2 separate regions of the Homo sapiens genome follow, and region 1 is linked to region 2. The links are contacts of gene promoters, found by promoter capture Hi-C in blood cells and fetal thymus (Javierre and others, 2016). All regions are on one chromosome and are shown on one strand. The core of a region is centred on a gene start or on the middle of the fragment in contact, and the rest is flanking DNA. Distances in the headings are between cores, read along the strand shown. Region 1 overlaps ZNF805 (zinc finger protein 805). Region 2 holds the start of ZNF420 (zinc finger protein 420).

What was found. The method cuts DNA at HindIII sites, captures the fragments that hold promoters and counts their contacts. A CHiCAGO score of 5 or more calls a contact.
Region 1: a contact is called between a fragment that was not itself captured here and the fragment with the promoter of ZNF420 in region 2, in 1 of 17 cell types (total CD4 T cells). The highest score is 6.0, in total CD4 T cells.

The regions. Positions count from the first base shown.
Region 1 is chr19:57,253,391-57,257,926 of GRCh38, reverse strand. ZNF805 (zinc finger protein 805) reads right to left here. Exons shown (of 4, transcript NM_001023563.4): 4 at 1-4,536. The coding sequence ends at 3,224. Among named protein-coding and RNA genes, the nearest start is that of ZNF805, 15 kb to the right of the region's middle. The HindIII fragment of the contact is 668 bases long and covers 1,007-1,674 here.
Region 2 is chr19:37,075,164-37,079,853 of GRCh38, reverse strand. ZNF420 (zinc finger protein 420) reads right to left here and starts at 1,421. Exons shown (of 5, transcript NM_144689.5): 1 at 1,284-1,421. It overlaps LOC105372390 (a long non-coding RNA gene), which reads left to right and starts at 1,657. Exons shown (of 2, transcript XR_001754095.2): 1 at 1,657-1,756; 2 at 3,549-4,690. RefSeq lists an enhancer at 1,346-1,585 and a silencer at 1,676-1,965. The HindIII fragment of the contact is 14,557 bases long and covers 1-4,690 here.

The DNA of each region.
Region 1 (4,536 bases), core at 91-2,590, about 20 Mb before region 2:
AGACCAGCCTGGCCAACATGGTGAAACTCCATCTCTACTAAAAATACAAAAAATCAGTCAGGCATGGTGGCGGATGCCTGTAATCCCAGCTACTCAAGAGCCTGAGGCAGGAGAATCACTTGAACCCAGGAGGCGGAGGTTGCAGTGAGCGGAGATCGCACCACTCCACTCCAGCCTGGGCAACAAGAACAAAACTCCGTCTCAAAAAAAAAAAAAAAAAAAAAAAAAGATACGCAAACTGGATATAAAACCACAGCCCAAATATACGCCATTCACAAGAAACTTACTCCCAATATAGTGATATAGATAAGGTTTAAAAAAATGATGAAGTGTAAATCATGCAAGCATTAACCAAAACGTAAGACTGACCACACAAATATCAGATAAAAATTGATAAGAGTATTAACAGGAACAAAAAGGGACATTACTTAATTATAAAAGGGTCAATACACCAAGAATACTAAGCAAACCTACATGTGTATATACCAAACAACAGAGCTTTAAATTATGTGGAGCAAAAACTGATAGAACTTAAAGGAGGAATAGGTAATTCCACAATTATAGCTCAGGACTTCAACATCCTTCTCTTGGCAATTGATAGAAATACTAGACAGAAAATCAGCAAGGATACAGGAGACCTAAATAACACCACCAACTAACAGGATCATACAAACTTTTACAGAAACTCCACCAAATGACCGAGAACACACATTCTTTTCAAGCAGCTATGTAAAACAAGACAGCCTATATCCTGGGTCATAAGGAAAAAAAGTCAACAAATTTCAACAGTAACATCAAATGCAAAACAAATTAGAAATCAATAACAAATAGCAGGGAATACTCCAAACACTATTAAACAATATACTTCTAAATAATTCCTGGGTTAGAGAAGATGTCTCAAAAGGAATCAGGCAATCTTAGAACTGAGTAAGATAATCAAAAGCATATTAAGACTTGTGGGATGAAACTAACAGCAGTGTAAGAAAAATGTATAGAACTTAAAGCTTATATTAAAAAAGAAAAAAAGCCTCAAATCAATAACCTAAACATCCACGTCAGGAAACCACTGAGTCAAATACAACCAGAGCAAGTAGGAGAAAGGATACAATACACATCAGAGCAGATATCAGTGAAATTAAGAACAGAGACTGGAGAAAAATCAGTGATATAAAGTGCTATTTCTTTGAAATGATCAATGAAATTGACATATGTCTACAAAGACTGACAATAATAAGTGATACATTTCCAATATCAAGAATACAACAAGGAACATAAGTACAGATCCTGCTGCCATCAAGAGGATAAAAGGAAATATTTCAAAGAATGCTACAAATTAGAACATTTACATAAAATGAACACTTCCTTAAGAAAATCTATAAAAATTCATCCAATATGAAATACTCTGAATAGTTCTATACCTATTAAATAAAATAAATACATAATTAAAAAGCATTCAAAAGGAAAATCTCCAGGTCCCACTTCTTCACTGGAGAAAGCTACCAAACATTAAAGGAACAAATAACACCAATTCTACACATGATCTTCCAAAAAAACAGAAGAGAATTCCTTCCAATTCATGTTAGGAGGTTAGTTATCATCTAGACATCAAAACCAAACAGTAACAGTTGAAGAAAGAAAACTACAGATTATCACTCATGAAATCAGAGGAAAGCTTCCTCAACAAAATACTAGCAAATGAAATACTGTAGCATAGTACACAAACAAAATTATACTCCATGATCAAGTAGGGCTTATCACAAAGATGTGAGGCTGGTTCAATACTTGAAACTCAATCAAGGTAACACATCATATCAACTGACTATAGAAGTAACATCACATAATTAAATCAATTGGTGGAGAAAAAGCATATGACAAAATTCAACACTTATTAATAATAACCAAAAAAATCCCAGCAAATTAGGAATAGAGGGAAACTTTCTAAACTCGATAGAGAAACTCTTTGGAAGCAACTTTCAACATCATAATAATGAGAAACTGAACATTTCCCCCTAATATCAGGAACAAGGCATGGATAACTTGTCACTATTCGTATTCAACATCACACTGGAAATCCTACCTAGTACAATAACATGAGAAAAGCAAATAAAAGGTATACAGATGGGAAGCAAGAAATAAAACTGTCCCAAATTGCAAATGACATTTCTATATTTAAAATCCTAAGGATTCTCCCAAAAGAAATGGCAAGAAATAATGAGTTTAGGAAGGTTGCAAGACAGCAAAATAAGATTGAAAAAATAATGTTTCTGTATACTAGCCAACATCATGTGAATATTGAAACTTTAAATATCAATGCCATTTACAATCACTCAAAAAACTATGCAGCTATAATTCTTATTTTAAATGTGCAGGAGTTATACTGTGTAAACTATAAAACAGTAATGAAATATATCAAAGAAAATTTAAATAATGAAAAGATAGGCTATGTTCATGAATTGGAAGACTAAGATGCCAATTTCCAACACATTGATCTATAGATTTAACTCAATTTCTATCAAAATCCAAGCAAGAATATTTGAAAAACAGAAAAACCAATCCTAAAGTGTATATGGAAAGTCAAACTAGGAATGCTAAATGAATTTTAAATAAAAATAGTAAGAAAAAAGAAATCACATTACCTAATTTTGAGATTTACCATACAGCTATAGCAATCAAGTAAACCAACAGATGGGAATCAAGAAAAATTCTCAGTGTTAGTGTTTAAAACCCATTAAAAAAGAATTTTTTTAAAAAATCAAAGACCTAAACAGTATTAAGTGGTACAATAAAATGTGCGCATTCATGTTTCTTTTAATCCTTAAATATAAAAGTATTTCATAACTCAAGGCTTCATTATTTCTCATAAAAACAATGCTTCTTAAGAAGAGACAATGTTGTAGAACAAAGACATTGAGTAAGTTTCCAGACCTTCCCTTACTAACTTTCCTGACACAGGACAGAAATGTACATACAAGACAACAGTATAAAAGCAGTGTCTGCATTTCATTTTCTTTTCTATGTCACCTCTTTCTGTTTATAAAAATTCCTGAGATAACATTGCACTGTAAACTAATGAGAAAGATGGAGCTAAAGGTTTTCCCAAGTGCGTAATAACCACTGGGTGTTTTTCCAGGATGAATTCGGATGGAGAATAAGGCTCTAAGCTGCGTGATTTTCTAATATGACTCCTTAGGTGACAAATGACATTTGGCAACAGAAGGTTTTCTCACAGTGAAGACACTTGTGGGGTTTCTCTTTGGTATGTACGATCAGATGCCATGTAAGATGCTTCCTCTTGCAAAAGATTTTCCTCAGTGGTGACATTCAAAAAGTTTTTCCCCAATAAAAGTTCTTGGATGTTGACTGAGGTCTGCCCACTTGTAAAAGGTCTTCCCACATCTGTTACACTGATAGGATTTCTCCCAGTATGCATCCTTTGATGCTGAGTGAGGGACGAGCTGCGACTGAAGGCCTTTCCACATTCACTGCACTCATACGGCTTCTCTCCAGTGTGGATGATAGAGTGTCGAATGAGGTTTGTGCTCCAGCAAAATGTTTTCCCACACTCGATGCATTCATAGGGCTTCTCTCCACTATGAATCCGCTGGTGCCTTGTGAGGCCTGACCTGCGGTTGAAGGCCTTTCCACACTCCATGCACTCATAGGGCTTCTCTCCAGTGTGGATGCTGAAGTGGCGAATGAGGTCTGCCCTATTGCTAAAGGCTTTCCCACACTCTTTGCACTCGAAAGGTTTTTCTCCAGTGTGGGCCCTTTTATGCAAGATGAAAGTAGAGCAGTGGGTGAAGGCCTTTCCGCATTCACTACACACATATGGCTTCTCCCCAGTGTGAATCCGCTGGTGCCTTTTGAGGTAGGATCGGTGGTTGAAAGCCTTCCCACACTCGAGGCACTCAAAGGGCTTCTCTCCAGTGTGGATGACATAGTGGTGAATCAGCGCTGCGCTCTCACAGAAGGCCTTCCCACATTCACTGCACTCATAGGGCTTCTCCCCGGTATGAGTCTGCTGGTGCCACATGAGGTATGATCTGTGTTTGAAGACCTTGCCACATTCGAAGCACTCGTAGGGATTCTCACCACTGTGGATGATGTAGTGTCGAATGAAACCTGGCCTATCTCGAAAGGCTTTGCCACACTCTTTGCACACAAAGGGTTTTTCTCCAGTGTGGCTCCTGTTATGCAAGACAAAAGTGGAGCGGTGGGTGAAGGCCTTTCCACATTCACTGCACTTATAAGGCTTCTCTCCACTGTGAATCCGCTGGTGCTGGGTAAGGTGTGACTTCCGATTAAAAGCCTTCCCACACTCCATGCACTTATAGGGCTTCTCCCCAGTGTGGACCATGTGGTGCTGCAGGAGGTATGTACTCTTGCTAAAGGTTTTTCCACACTCTGTGCATTCATAGGGCTTCACTCCAGAGTGAATCCTCTCATGCCGAGCAAGCAGGCGTTTCTTGTTAAACACTTTTTCACATTCATTGCATTTAAAGATATTTTCCTCTTCCTGAATAACTGGATTTTTAC
Region 2 (4,690 bases), core at 172-2,671:
CCCAGCTAATTTTGTATTTTTAGTAGAGGTCATGGTGAAACCATGACCTCAGGTAATCCACCCGCCTCTGCCTCCCAAAGCGCTGGGATTACAGATGTGAGCCACCGCGCACAGCATCCAGTGGCTGTCTTGAAGGTATTATCAGCCCTAAAATTCTCATCCTAAGACCAGGTCTGTAACTTGCAAATAACTCCTATTCATCACTCAGGTGTCCAAATGTCTGACTTCCTTACTTCTTGCCACTTCCCTGCACCCAATCCCCTTAAGGCTATAAGGCAAGAGGACGCAGGGAAGAAGTCGTGAACTCGTAAGTAACTACATTTCCCAAGGTGAACCGAGGATGGATACAGAAATGAAGCAATACAGGCCATGGATGAAAGGGCAGCCACTGTGGTCAAATCAAAAAGTCCTTAAGTCCTCAGAGCCACATGGGAGGAGCACAGAGCCACATGGGACTCACAATCCATAGGCAGACCTCAGCCCCAAATGAACCCCAGAAATACCAAAAAGAAATTTACTTCTGTACTGGACTAAACCCCCATAAGGTCACAGAATATACAAATGGCCACATAAAGTCACACATAATCACATTTCCACAGTTACACAGCTAGAGGCACAATCACCCAATTATGCTACATTGTTAGACCACCTTGTCTCAAACAAAATCCCATTAAGTACAAGGCATATAATTACATCCAAGCACCTTGTCAGAGACACATACCGCCAAAAACACCCTTTCAAAGCTGCAATTTTAGTCTCTTTACACAGTCATGAAAACAGCACACACAACCCCACAGTCACACACAATCAGACAGTCACCCAACCCAGTACGAAATCAGGGAAACACGCGGTAATAAACACCGTGTCACAGCAACACTGTCACACACCTTAAATTTACTGGCAAATCCATCCCACGATATCAGGTTTACACACAACCTCAAAGTGACACAAGAACATCCAAACACTCTTGTCACAACTGTCACACACTTCATAGTCACAGGCAAACCCCAATTATACACGCGGCACACATAAAATCACAGTCACATAAGTATATCCCAGCCAGGTAAGCAAACAGTCACAAACACCCTCAGAGTCACAACTCACACTCATACAAATGCTCATACACAAAACCACAGCCACACACGTCCAGTCGTGTATGCACAGGCAGTCGCCAATACCAGGCAGGCTGTAGCCTGCACACAAAACCGGAGACACGGCCACACGAGTAACCCCAGCGACGCTTTCTCCGCGCGTGTCCGCTCCGGCATCCCGGACACTCCTACCTTGACAGAGGTGCAGTTCAGGGTCCAAGATCTGGCTCCCGGGTTCCAAGCCCAATTTCGGGTTCGCCAGCCCAGCAGGTGCGGAGCCAAGCTCCTCCACAGACGCGGCCCTCTCCCCACGCGAGGCCTCCAAATCTCGCAAACTAACGGAAATGAAGCTACGCTCCGGGAGCGGTGCCTCTGGGAAATGTAGTCCAGCGCTCCGGACGCCGTGCCTCTGGGAAATGTAGTCCAGCGCTTGGCTAGCCGGCCAGAACGCCAGGAGGCCCGGGCCGCTCACCCCTCGAGGGGCTCGTGGGCTCGGCCTGTGGAACCTGCTTGTCCCGCCTGCAGCGCCCCGGAGGTTTCTGGGAGTGCCCGCCCGCCCGCGCTCAGTGCGCAGGCGTCAGACGCTCAGGGCCTGCGAGAGCGAGCTGAGTGGTCCCAGGGTCTACCCCTGGCAGGAGAGAGGGTGGGACCCGCCGGCCAGGCAGGTGCGGGGGAGGAGCTGGGGCCGGTGCGGGGACCCGCCGGAACCTCGGATTTGCAGAGGACCCTGTGTGTGCCCTCCCAGGCCCTTGGGGTGTGTGTGACAATGGGAGATGCCAGGTGGACTGAGAGTCTTTCCGTGGCCGGGTGTGTATGGTTGTGTTTCTGCCTGTGTGTGATTCTTCCTGCTGTGGGGTGTGAGGTGATTTGTACTTTAAGCTGCGTAGTAATGGGATTTTATAACTGTGTAGAATCGTCTAACAGAGTAAGACGATTTTACACAGATCTCTATTGTGGTTTGCTTATGAAGGGTATCTGTATGTATATCTGCTTTTTTGTGTGTGGCCGTAATTGAGTAACTGGTGATCTGTGTTATATAAACGTGCTTTCTTTGTGCTTGTATTTCAGTGTCTGTAAGGGTGCCAAGAGCAAATGAGCTGTGTGTGATCGTGTGTGACAGTGAAAATACTATGGCCAAGTTATTTCTTCCTTAAATAGTAATGTAATAATCTGGAAAAGATAATCAATTTATCTGACAAGTAATTTAGACATCATTTTTCTATTGGATCAAATATATGTGTTATCGGGAAGAATCCAAAATTAACGTAGTTTTTTCTTTGTTTTTAGAAAGATTATTTCAAAACCAGTCCTAGGGTAACTGCCTTTTCCTCTGCCACAGCAGGCCAAAAGTAGATATCCATTATTTTCTAATTAGAGGGTAAAGTTTCTCTTATTACTGGGTACGGTTGAGAGGCCATCAACTAATAAAATAATAAAACAACGTTATACATAAGAAGAGTGAATTTTAGCACAGTACAGCACTAGTCAGATTTCCCAAATTCTAGGTCAAACACTTGTCCTCATTTTCTGATGAGAAAACCTTGGCCGGCAGAAAGTAACTTAAGGCTGTAGAGTTTGTTGGTAAACCTGAACTTATTTTTACTTACTTCAAGACCTCTTGGCCTTTTATGATTTTTGAATAATCAAAAACTTGTGAACTTCCAGCACAGAGAAGATAGAGTATAATTTCACCACTCCTTCAGAGGGAAAAAAATTAATAAAACTTGGTCTTGCAAGACCATATATCAAATACATTGATCTCTTACCGGTAATGTGACTGGAATAGCAAATTTGGTGATCAGAATTCTTGAGGGAATGAACCTGTGTGTGTGATCAGGCATAGCTATGTGAAATATAGATAATTAAATTGCACTGAGTTAGAGTGGGTCAAAGTCAGGCAAGAATTATGTCCAATTCACATGCACACGTATGTTTATTGCGGCACTATTCACGATAGCAAAGACTTGGAACCAACCCAAATGTCCATCAATGATAGACTGGATTAAGAAAATGTGGCACATATACATCATGGAATACTATGCAGCCATAAAAAAGGATGAGTTCATGTCCTTTATAGGGACATGGATAAAGCTGGAAACCATCATTCTTAGCAAACTATCGCAAGGACAGAAAACCAAACACCACATGTTCTCACTCATAGGTGGGAATTGAACAATGAGAACACTTGGACACAGGGTAAGGAACATCACACACTGGGGCCTGTCAGGGAGTGGGGGTAGGGGGAGGGGTAGCATTAGGAGATATATCTAATGTAAATGATGAGTTAACAGGTGCAGCACACCAACATGGCACATGTATACATATGTAACAAACCTGCACGTTGTGCACATGTACCCTAGAACTTAAAGTATAATAAATAAATAAAAATAAAAATAAAAAAGAATTATGTCCAATTATATATGGGAGATATATACTGGGTTTTGTTTTTTTTTTTAGGAGGTGACAGACACATTCTGGTTTCAAATTGAACAGCATGCATTGATCTTGAGCCGCATCTGTGTGATTCTGGGTCACTACTTTTGGCTTTTGAATAGTTACGATGAGTGCTTGCAAGAAAAAGGAAGCTATCACTTAAAAGTAAAAAACAGTTGTTCACCTGAGATGAATAGATTCCATGTGGATGGGCTTCTTGTATATTAAACTTATGACATTTTATATGTGTTGATATGTGATTTTTTTAAAAAAAGTATAGGCAGCTTTTCAGATTCACAAAGAGGTACTTTAAGCTAAAAAAGGTTAAGACCATCAGAAACGTAGACTGCAGGAACTGAGAAGGATTTGTTAGAATACTATGTGATATAATTAGTATAAAAATAGTATATATTTTATAGAGGGATACACACAAAACTCCTGCTAATGGTAACCTTTAGGGAGAGAAGAGAGGATTTAGGGTAAAGGGGGAGAAGTAAATGTCAAAGGGAACTTAAGCATTATAGGTCATTTCTCTCCCTCTCTCTCTGTTTTTGTTTGTTTGTTTGTTTTTGTTTTTGTTTTTGTTTTGAGACAGAGTCTCACTCTGTCGCCCGGGCTGGAGTGCAGTGGTGCGCTCTCAGCTCACTGCAACCTCCGCTTCCCGGGTTCAAGTGATTCTCCTGCCTCAGCCTCCCGAGTAGCTGGGATTACAGGCGCCTGCCACTACGCCCAGCTAATTTTTTGTATTTTTAGTGGAGACAGGGTTTCACCATTTTAGCCAGGCTGGTCTCGAACTCCTGACCTCGTGATTTGCCCACCTTGGCCTCCCAAAGTGCTGGGATGACAGACGTGAGCTACCGCGCCCGGCCTCTCTCTCTCTTTTAGCAAGGTAGCATCACTCATATATTTAAAATTTAATTTTAAAATATAAAAGTCAATAGAGACGTTGGTTTTGGAGCAAGGAAGTGAGCCAAGGAACCTAAACTGTGGAAGCAGACAAAATCCAGAAAAACTTACACCTTAGGAAGACTGCAGAGAGAAGGGAATAGTAAGGCAACAAGTTTTCATAGGCCTGAGGTGTCTTGTTTGTTTATGAAATGCCAGTTTCATATTTATGTCCTTATAACCCATTTTGACCTTGCTGACCTTTAAGGATTAGTTATCTC